2 separate regions of the Homo sapiens genome follow, and region 2 is linked to region 1. Evidence: promoter capture Hi-C in human tissues and cell types (Jung and others, 2019). All regions are on one chromosome and are shown on one strand. Each heading gives the region's core, a stretch centred on a gene start or on the middle of the fragment in contact. The rest is flanking DNA. Distances are from core to core; before and after follow the strand shown.

Region 1 (5,171 bases), core at 1,246-3,745:
ATTAAATTTCCCCTTTTGGCATCATCAGTCTATGGACTGAAAACATAGTTCTGAGATTATACCTTTCCGATTTTATGTTTTGCAAATCTCGAAGGTCCCTGGAAATCTACAGGGTACATCTTTTTTCACCCTCTGAGATGTGAGCTCCATAATAATAAAACCTAACTCAGCAATTCATTGAGTTCATCACTATTTATTGAGTACCTACTCTGATCGCTGGTATACTAGAAGCACAGAAGCCTTCTTCTTGAAGGGAAAAAGAAACTCATGTATCTAGAAACACCAGGCTCTATGTGGCACTTTCATTTATTTGCCACATAAAGCCTGGTATTTCTAGATCTATGTGGCATCATTTCATTTAATTCTCACAACTCTAAGAAGTACATATTGTTCCATTTCGCAGGTGAGGAGATTCTGAAAGTTCCATAACCTGGCCAAGGTCGTTTGCATTTGCAGAGGCCAGCACTGAAGTCCAGTCCCGTCTGACTAGACCATCTGGGTCCTTCCCACTAGAATACAGTGGGGAGGAGAAAAGGACACTGATGGATTAGTCAGTCGACAGCACAGGCAGCAGATTATAAAGCTGAACTGTTTGGTTAGAGCAGCTCGGGGCTGGAGAGGGAGGGCTGGCAGGAGGACTTCCTGAAGGAGACAGCCCAGAAGCTCCTTGTAAGGACCTGAGGCTTGGGTATGGGTGGAGGAGGAAGTGTGATGTTGGCCCTGGGAGGGGAATGAATAAGAAGAGACAGTGGCAGACAGCATGCCCTGAGGTCAGCTGGGTGGAGGATGGGAAGCCCAGCAGAGATGTCTGGACCTGACGAGGTGGCAGCAGGGAGGCACTCACTGAGTTTATAACTCCAGGAGGGGCAGAAGCAATGGCAACACCCGTCACCAGGGGAGAGGATGACTCAAAGCCTTGGCTGGAAGGAGTGGTGGGTGTGGCTTGGAGCCTGCCCGGGCCAGGCAGGTGCTTTGGGAAGGGTCCAGCCAAGGAGAGTCCGGTCTTCCTCCACGCAGGGGAGGGGGAGCAGGGGAAGGAAGGAGAGACATTAACAAGATGGAATCTGTAGGCTTTGGTGCAGGACGCTTACGGGGAACACGGCTCAGGGAGTTGGATTCCAGATTGCTTTTGAAGCCTTCCCCAGGTCACATCACACCGCTGTTCCCAGCCGTTCCAGGTCTTCCTGTTGACTGTAGGATCAAGTCCATTCCCCCAATCTGACCTCAGTCTACGTTTTTGGGCTCTTTGCCCACTAGTCTCCTAAATAAGTCCTCTGCGCCCCACAAACCAGTCTCCACCCAGCCTCCAGTGCTGCCAGCCTCCTCCACCCCCACCTGGAGCAGTGACATTCATGGATAGCTCCTCCAGCGGTCTCGAAAAATGAACATTTTAGGGTTCCACTTTTTGCTGTTGGTGTCCCCCTAATGCGAACATCCTGTCCTTGAGGGCTGATTCTTTTTACAATAGTTGTCCCAACGGGGGAAGTCATTTCACCTTTCTGACTTAGTTTCCTTATCTGCAAAATGGAGCCAGTAGTGTCTCATAGGGTACAGTGCCTGCACACACGCCCATCCACGGCTGTTCCAGGCCTTTCCTCCACTGCGGGGGGGTGCCAGGGGTCCAGAGGCGAGGAGGAGGGGGCCGCTGGACGCTGGGAAATTGGGAGGACCCCAAGATCCCTGTAGGGATCCACGGTAGAGGGGGAGGGCTTCTCTGTCCTCTCTATCCATTCGGACCTCCGCATTTCTAAGAACCAGCATCGCACCATGTCACTGAGAAAGAGCGCGCACACCAGCCGCCTTTTGAAAGTCACAAATAGATTCCTTCAGTGAATTCAGGACAGACTCCCCGGGGGCAGGTCCCGGGGCGGGAGCCGGTGTGGGTAGTGCTGCGCGGCCCTTAACTGTTTACCAGGCGCGTTTCGCTGACCTCGTCTCCTGGACCCCCTTTCGTGACCCCTCTCAACACCTCTACTGGGGAGACGAGGACCCCGAGGTTCTGGGGGGCGACGCGACCTGCCCGAAGTGACAAGGGTCCTGGGCCGCACTGCTCCGCCGGGGTCTGCGCTCCTCGGCGGAGCGGGTGGGAAGGATGAGTCCTCGGGGTGGAGAAGGAGGAGCGGGTCCCCGGGTACCGCTCACCCGGCCTTAGGAGCCCGGGAGCGCGCGTAGGGACGCGGAGTTGAGGCTCTCCATCTGCGGCCAGGGAAAGGGATACAGTCCCCCGGGCCCCTCCCGGCCGCTCGGAACCCACCCCAGGCGCGTCCCCGCGGGCGCGCGCTCCAGGCGGGGCCGACGGGCTCGGAGGCGCGCGCCCGCTGCCGGGTCCGCCGCGCGCGCTCCCTCCGCTCCTCTCCCCCGCCCCTCCCGGGCCCGCGCGCTCCCAGGGTCCGCCGCGCGCGCGCCTCGCGTCGCTCCCCATCCCCGCCCCTCCCGCCGCCACCCCGCCCCCGGCCGGGTACCCTCGCCGGACCCGAGAGAGAGCGCCGCCGCCATCTTAGTTGCTGCCGCTGCCTTCAGCAAGACGCTGCTCTGAGGCGGGGAGGGCGCCGCGTCCTGAGCGCGCGGCCCAGCGTCACGGCGGCGGCGGCGGCGGCTCCTCCTTGGACCCCCGGAGCTCCCCGCGCCGCGGAGCAGCTAGCCCCAGGCCCCTAGAGCCCCGAGAGCTCCGAGAGCTCCGCTCGGCGTCCCGCGCGCCTCCCTGCCGCTCCCGCCCCGGGCTGGCGATGCTGCGCCGCCCCGCTCCCGCGCTGGCCCCGGCCGCCCGGCTGCTGCTGGCCGGGCTGCTGTGCGGCGGCGGGGTCTGGGCCGCGCGAGGTAAGCCCCGGGGCTGGGCCGGGCCGCTGGGTCGGTGCGGGATTCGGGTCCGGGTGCAGGATTCGGGTCCCGGTGCGGGGATTCGGGTCCGGGTGCGGGAGTAGGGCCGGATGCCGGGATTCGAGCCGGGATGCGGGGAGTCGGGTCCGAGCGCAGGGAGCCGGGTCAGGGCGTGGGGTTCGGGTTGGGGGTCGGGCTCGCGGAGCCGGGGCCAGGGCGCAGGAGACTGTGGGCGCGCGCTGCAGGCGTCCCGGGGAAGCCAGGCTCCGTCCCGGGCGGGGCTCCTGAGCCTGGGCTGCCCCCACTGCAGCCCATGGTGGTGGCTGCGCTGATTTGGGGGAACGTGCAGACGGGCCGAAGGGTCAGTCCGCCCTGCTCAGCGGCGCACGCAGGCTGGGGCTGCACCCCTGGGTGAGATGCTCTGTGTACGTGTGCTCAGATGTGCATCAGGCGGGGGGTGCACGCACAGTTTTGGTGTGTGCTTACATAAGAGCCCACTCCTCCGCATCCCGTTTCCAAGATCCCGATTCTGTGTTGCTGCACCGCGGACACCACGACTTCGCCCCTTTCCGCCTCCTCCCAGAGTCCTTCAGACGTTGTCTGTTTCCAGTGGAGCCGAGGCTGAAACTTAGTGCTTCCCTCCCACCTTTTCACCCAAAGGTGAAATCGCGATGAGATTTGCGACCGCGGGCTCACCCAGTGTTAGAAATCTCCGTCTCTGCTACCCCTGGTGCCTTGGTGCTGTTTTTCTGACGGTCATTTAGACCGTGGAGGGTTAGATGTTCTCTACAAAAACGAGAAACCTCTCTGGTTTTTTAGGATTGTAGGACCGAAATTATTTTATGGCTCGGTGGGAAGTAGTATTTCTTGGCTAATTTATTATTAGCTTTTAACCTTCATCCACTTAACCTTTTAAACCTTGCATGCCTCTGCTATTGACTGGTCTTGCCAACGAAAAGCTTACGCATTGCAGATACAGTATTTGCTTCTGAGTGGATCTTGAAATCGTAAACATTTTCCTTGGCCTTAGAGCAGAGTAATCTAGGTGTAGTCTGTAGAATCTACTGTAGGCTTAAATCTGTTGTTCTGATTTTTTTTTAATCAAAAGAAATTTTGGGGAGGAGGATTGATAGAAATCTAGATGAAATGGTCATATTTGAATTTAGCAAGCTTTTTAAAAATTCTTATTTTCCCTTCCCTGGCGTGACATAAGGAGAGAAGTATGGTGTTCACGAATTAAAGGGCAGAGGCGGCAAATGCATCTTTTGTTCCATGTTCCTTTCTAAACATCGAGGATGATAAACTTTGAATACTTCTTTTATTTCATTTCTAACATTCTGTTGACTCTGTCAAATTCAGATCTTAGTCACTAAGTATCTCATTGCTGGCCATTTGATTTTTAAAAGTAACATCAAGCTAAGTTTGAAATGTTCTTTCCAGATGTGGGTTGGAGGTCTGAAACTCTAATATATCCAAGAGAAATGTCAAAAGTTTTGCTTCTCTTGGGGAAAACCCACACATTTTAAAAATATGTGCTTGGATTGGGTATTTTGGGAACAGTTTAAGTATATTTAGTCAGTGATACCATTTCTTGTTAAAATTGGTGCTTTCTTAAATAGCACCTACATTTGTTAGTCATTATTTAATTGCCTTGGTTACTTAAACAGCATACATTTCAACTTTGAATATCTTCATTACCTGAGACCGACAGAAATCTTGTGTGAAAGGTGTGTTGGCTAGTTGAGTCATTTGTAATTTGCTTTCTCTAAGTTTTTCTTGGTGCAGTTACAGTAGTTCAAGATTCTTAGTCTTCGGAATAAAGACATTTTACACATCAGTTATTCGTATGCATTTTTTTCAGGTTGCAAGTTAGAAAATGTCTTGGAATTACACGAAATGCTAATAAACAATTTCATTTTGAAATATTACAAGTGAATTTCATATGTAAATTTACAGTTTGGAGACACTCTGTGGGCTCGTTTTAAGAGATCATTTCAACTAATTGAATTTTTTACGGCTGTAAGGCAGTACGACATGAACTCCTGTTCATGCTGTAGCTACCTTTAATCATTGTTAATGTTAGATTACGTACAGACTGCTGCAGAAAATGATAGATTTTCTAATATAAATTGCATCTTGACTCTTAGTTTTGTAGAGACCCTCAAATTTTATTTTAATTATAGCTGTAGTTCTCAAAAAACATTGAGTAGAGCTGGGTGCAGTGGCTTGCGCCTGTAATCCCAGCACTTTGGGAGGCCGAGGCCAGCGGATCACCTGAGGTCAGGAGTTCGAGACCAGCCTGGCCAACATGGTGAAACCCCATCTCTGCTAACTATATAAAAATTAGCTGGGTG
Region 2 (5,319 bases), core at 2,812-5,311, 360 kb before region 1:
AGCGTTTTGCCTTCCAGGTTATTGTAAGGATTTCTTTCTTTCTTTTTTTTTTTTTTTTGAGATGGAGTCTCAGTCTGTCACCCAGGCTGGAGTGTGGTGGCTAGATCATAGCCCCTTGCATTTGCTGGAGCTTCTGCTCCAGCAGCCTTGAATTTCTGGGCTCAGGCGATCCTCCCACCTCGATCTCTGGAAGTGCTGGGACTACAGGCGTGCAACACCACACCTGGCTTTAGGGTTTTTTTTCCAGCCCCTTTCTTTCTTTTTTCTTTTTTTTTTTTTTGAGACGCAATTTTTGCTCTTTTTTTGCCCACGCTGAAGTTCAATGGCACACAATCTCGGGTCACTGCAACCTCTGCCTCCCAGGTTCAAGCAATTCTGCCTCAGCCTCCCAAGTAGCTGGGACTTGTACAGGCACGCATCACCATGCTTGGCTAATTTTGTATTTTTAGTAGAGACTGGGTTTCACCATGTTGACCAGGCTGGTCTCGAACTCCTGACCTCACGTGATCTGCCCATCTCGGCCTCCCAAAGTGTTGGGATTACAGGCGTGAGTCACCGCACCCAGCATCTTTTTCTTGAGATAGGGTCCCCACTTTGTCACCCAGGTTGGAGTACAGTGGTGTAATCTCGGCTCACTGCAGCCTCAACTTCCTGGACTCAAGCAATCCTCCTGCCAAAGCCCCTGAGTAGCTGGGTCCACAGGTGCATGCCACCACGCCTAGCTATAGTTGTTTTTTTTTTGGTTTTTTTTTTTTTTTTTTTTGAGACAGAGTGTCACTCTGTCACCCAGGCTGGAGTACAGTGGCACAATCTTGGCTCACTGCAATCTCCGCCTCCTGGGTTCAAGCGATTCTCTTGCCTCAGCCTTCTGAGTAGCTGGGATTATAGGCGTACACCACCACATCCAGCTGATTTTTGTATTTTTAATAGAGACGGGGTTTCACCATGTTGGCCAGGCTGGTCTCAAACTCTTGACCTCAGGTGATCCGCCCACCTCAGCCTCCCAAAGTGCTGGGATTACAGGTGTGAGCCACCACGCCCAGCCAAAGTTTTAACAAGATCATCCTACCTGCTTTTCTGAGAAAGGAGGTTAAGGGGAGAGGCAGGAGGACCAGTGATGCTGTTGGAATAATCCAGGAGAGAGCCAGCAGCAGCAACTCAAACCAAAGTGACAGGAGGGGACCTGGGGAGTAGTCGTCGAGTTCTGGGATACATTTTGTAGGTAGAACAGAGGGATTTTTTTGTTTGTTTAGACAGAGTCTCACTTTGTAGCCCAGGCTGGAGTACAGTGGCCCGATCTCAGCTCACTGCAACCTCCGCCTCCCGGGTTCAAGTGATTCTTGTGCCTCAGCCTCCCAAGCAGCTGGGATTACAGAAGCCCGCCACCATGCCCAGCTAATTTTTGTATTTTTAGTAGAGACGGGGTTTCACCATGTTGGCCAGGCTGGTCTCGAACTCCTGCCCTCAGGTGATCCACCCACCTTGGTCTCCCAAAGTGCTAGGATTGCAGGCGTGAGCCACTGCACCCAGCTGAGCAGAGAGATTTGTGGACAGATTGGACATAGGAGGAGAGCACAACAGCGGAGTCAAGGATGACTCGAAGGTTTGTGGCCTGAGCGACTTGGAAGGATGGAGTTGTCATTTACTGTGATGAGGAGACTAAGAGGAGCGGGCGTGGGGTGAAATGTACAGAGTTCAGGTTGGGATATGTTAAGTCTGAGGACCTTTTAGTCATCTGAGATGGCCAGTGTGTACAGTACAGGAGAGAAGTGGAGGTTTGAGATATACATCTGGGGTCAACGTGAGTGGCTAGTAACGAATGAAAGCTGTGATATTGAAGTTATCTAATTGTTTAAAATGGGGGTTAGGTCTAGAGCTGATCTCAAGGCCAAAGTCCCTTCCAAAATGCTATGCTGCTTCTCCTTGGGCATTCTGAGCTATTCTGAACTTCTAGCATTCTGGAACTCTGCCATACAGCAGGAGTCGGGAAGAGATGAGGCTGGAAAGGCCAGATGGCCTAGATTCATGTGCCAGTTCCACTACATTATGGTTGTGGAGGGTTAAATTAATTAATATATGTGGCCGGGTGCGGTGGCTCTTGTCTGTAATCCCAGCACTTTGGGAGGCCAAGGCAGGTGGATCACGAGGTCAGGAGATCGAGACCACCCTGGCTAACACGGTGAAACCCTGTCTCTACTAAAAATACAAAAAATTAGCTGGGCATGGTGGCGGACACCTGTAGTCCCAGCTACTCGGGAGGCTGAGGCAGGAGAATGGCGTGAACTTGGGAGGCGGAGCTTGCAGTGAGCCGAGATCGCGCCACTGCACTCCAGCCTGGGCGACAGAGCGAGACTCTGTCTCAAAAAAAAAAAAAAAATTAATACATGTAAGAGTGGCTTGCACATAGAATATGCTCATGAAATGCAAATGATCATCACCAATTCAGAATGACTTTCTTCACCAACACTATCTGACACCAGCATCAAGCTCATAGGCTACTGTGTCTCCTTCAATCAAAAACGTACCTTGAGGCCTGGTGTGGTGGCTCATGCCTGTAATCCCAGCACTTCGGGAGGCTGAGGCAGGTGGATCACTTGAGGTCTGGAGTTCAAGACCAGCCTGGCCAACATGGTGAAACCCCATCTCTACTAAAAAAAAAAAAAAAAAAAAAAAAAAATTAGCTGGACATGGTGGCATGTGCTCTAGTCCCAGCTACTCGGGAGGCTAAGGCAGGAGAATCACTTGAACCTGGAAGGTGGAGGTTGCAATGAGCCAAAATTGCGCCACTGCACTCCAGCCTGGGTGACGGAGCGAGACTCCGTCTGAAAAAAACCAAAAAACAAAAAAAAGTACCTACTCAAATGAGGCCTATTCATGTCACTTTAGCACTCCAATCAAATTGCTGTGAAATTCACTACTCGATGTACCAAACCCAGAGGTTACAAAAAGTGAACGGTGTGCTCAGCTTTTTTTTCAAAAGATATTCAATCAATATCTTTTTAAAATCTACACAACACTGAGTCACAACACAAGGCAGATTTTAATCATCTTTCTCTCAAGGATCATTTCTCTTCTGCCAATCTGATTCTCTTATTTGACAATCTTCCTTTTAGCCAAGACCTACTTTTAATATATTTTGGGATTTATTTCAATATCCACAATTAAGAGACTGCAGACAAACACAAAACAGCAACTCTTGAGACTCTAAAAATGGAAACCCAAATCATCTTCCCCCTATAGATAGTACAGGCAGGAGACTGACTGTGTCTCTGTCCTATCCGGCAGGTCCTTGAAACCTCTGAATTATTCAAAACGACAAGTGCATATGGCGGTATAAAGCAGCATTTTATTACATTCACGGGGACAACTGGAGGATTAAAATAAGAGTTTGGAATCTGGGATGGAGAGGAGACAAGCAGTACACACTGGTCAGATAACCACACAAACAAAATTAGGCAAGATGCCAGTCAGTATCCTAATTCTACAGGCACTAAGCTTAGATATGTAAGTTTAGTAAAAAGTAAACCCAATTAAACAGAATCTTCTGCATGGTGAGAATATGGATTTTTTTTCTTTTTGCTTATATTGCCTAAAATTTTTGCTATCATGAACTTTTTCCTTATTTATTGTGTCTATCTATCTATCTATTTTTTGAGACGAAGTCTCACTCTTGTCCCCTAGGCTGGAGTGCGATGGCGCGATCTCAGCTCACTGCAACCTCCACCTCCTGGGTTCAAGCAATTCTCCTGCCTCGGCCCCCCGAGTAGCTGGGATTATAGGCACCCACCACCACGCCCAGCTAATTTTTGTATTTTCAGTTGAGATGGGGTTTCACCATGTTGGCCAGGCTGGTCTAGAACTCCTGACCTCAGACGATACACCTGCCTTGGCCTCCCAAAGTGCTGGGATTACAGGCGTGAGCCACCGCACCTGGCCATGTTATATATATATATATAAATATATATAAATAAATATATATGTAAATATATATAAATATATATTTTTTCTTTTTTGAGACGGAGTCTCGCTGTCACCCAGGCTGGAGTGTGATGACGTCATCTCGGCTCACTGCAACCTCCACCTCCCAGGTTCAAGCAATTCTCCTGTCTCAGCCTCCCGAGTAGCTGGGACTACAGGCGCTGCCACTACGCCCGGCTAATTTTTTGTATTTTTAGTAGAGATGGGGTTTCACCATGCTGGCCAGGCTGGTCTCGAATTCCTGACGTCAGGTGATCCATCCGCCTCAGCCTCCCAAAGTGCTGGGATTACAGGCGTGAGCCACCGGGCCCGGCCTGAGGAAGAATCTTGAAGGTCAGGGAAGATACTTGAGATAAAGCAGAAGAAACTCAAGAAAGGCAGAAGACTGAATATGACAAAGCTTACCCCCTCAAATCAGCAAACAGTGAAATGAGAACCAAATGTCGAGACTGACATGAATAAGAAAGTTTTCTTTTAAAAATAGCAGCTCCTAATTGGATCCAGGAAAGATCATTCACCACATGCAAACTCACTTGGCTCTTGTTTACCCACCCGCCCTGCCCTTTTTTTTTTTCCACAAAAGAGAAGAGACTCAAAGAAGATTTCTTCTGAACGTGTGTCACCATTTATTGTAGTTTGCGTTAGGAATTGAACAGAGGACATTGTCTGTGGAGGGAAAAAAGGAAAAGAAAAAAGAAAGTATGCTTTTTATAGACTTAATTTCTTCAGAACACTTTATGGTTTCAAATCCTTTTTTTTTTTTTACCCCAAAGGAAATTTGAGAATTCAAGTATGTTAAGTAGGGAGCAGTAATACAAAAAGTCTTATACTTGTGTGCGCGTGTGGCTGTGTTTGTCTGTGTGTGTTGAAACCGGCAGACATACTCCCACATTCTTGCACCCTCTTTTGCTTTGGTAAGGCCAAACACATCACACAAATGACCCTGCCTCAAACTCACACACCCAAGGGTTGAAGAATTGATTTACCCCCAGAGGATAACTGTGAAGGTTTCAAACTGTCACGTAGCATTAAAAAAAAAACCCAACCCTCATCTCCCCAAAATATAAGTCACATAAGTCCTGATACACTTACACCCCTAGATTTTGCTGCAGCTGCTCCTCAGATGCCGAAGAGAGGCTTATCACAAGGACCAGAGCAGCAGGATTTTCTTTATTTTGTTTAGAATAAAAAAATCTTAAAGGGACATTTCAAAAGAAAAAAAAAACTGAAATTCAAATTCTGAAAATATCTTGCCTTTTTTATTAATCATGTCATCTAACACCAATTAAAAAAACAAATATGTGAATATGATATAAAAATACGATCCCAGGATTAACACTT

Evidence for each region. Contacts are between HindIII fragments. The study calls those that stand out against the background at their distance.
Region 2: a fragment that was not itself captured here is called in contact with the fragment with the promoter of CLSTN1 in region 1 in 2 of the 25 tissues and cell types used here (dorsolateral prefrontal cortex and mesenchymal stem cells).

Annotation. Positions count from the first base shown.
Region 1 is chr1:9,821,289-9,826,459 of GRCh38, reverse strand. It overlaps CLSTN1 (calsyntenin 1), which reads left to right and starts at 2,495. Exons shown (of 19, transcript NM_001009566.3): 1 at 2,495-2,817. The coding sequence starts at 2,727. RefSeq lists enhancers at 785-844, 1,905-2,621 and silencers at 2,234-2,293, 2,314-2,363, 2,534-2,683, 2,694-2,773. The HindIII fragment of the contact is 7,682 bases long and covers 1-4,714 here.
Region 2 is chr1:10,180,501-10,185,819 of GRCh38, reverse strand. UBE4B (ubiquitination factor E4B) reads right to left here. Exons shown (of 28, transcript NM_001105562.3): 28 at 4,581-5,319. Among named protein-coding and RNA genes, the nearest start is that of KIF1B, 27 kb to the left of the region's middle. The HindIII fragment of the contact is 5,206 bases long and covers 1,459-5,319 here.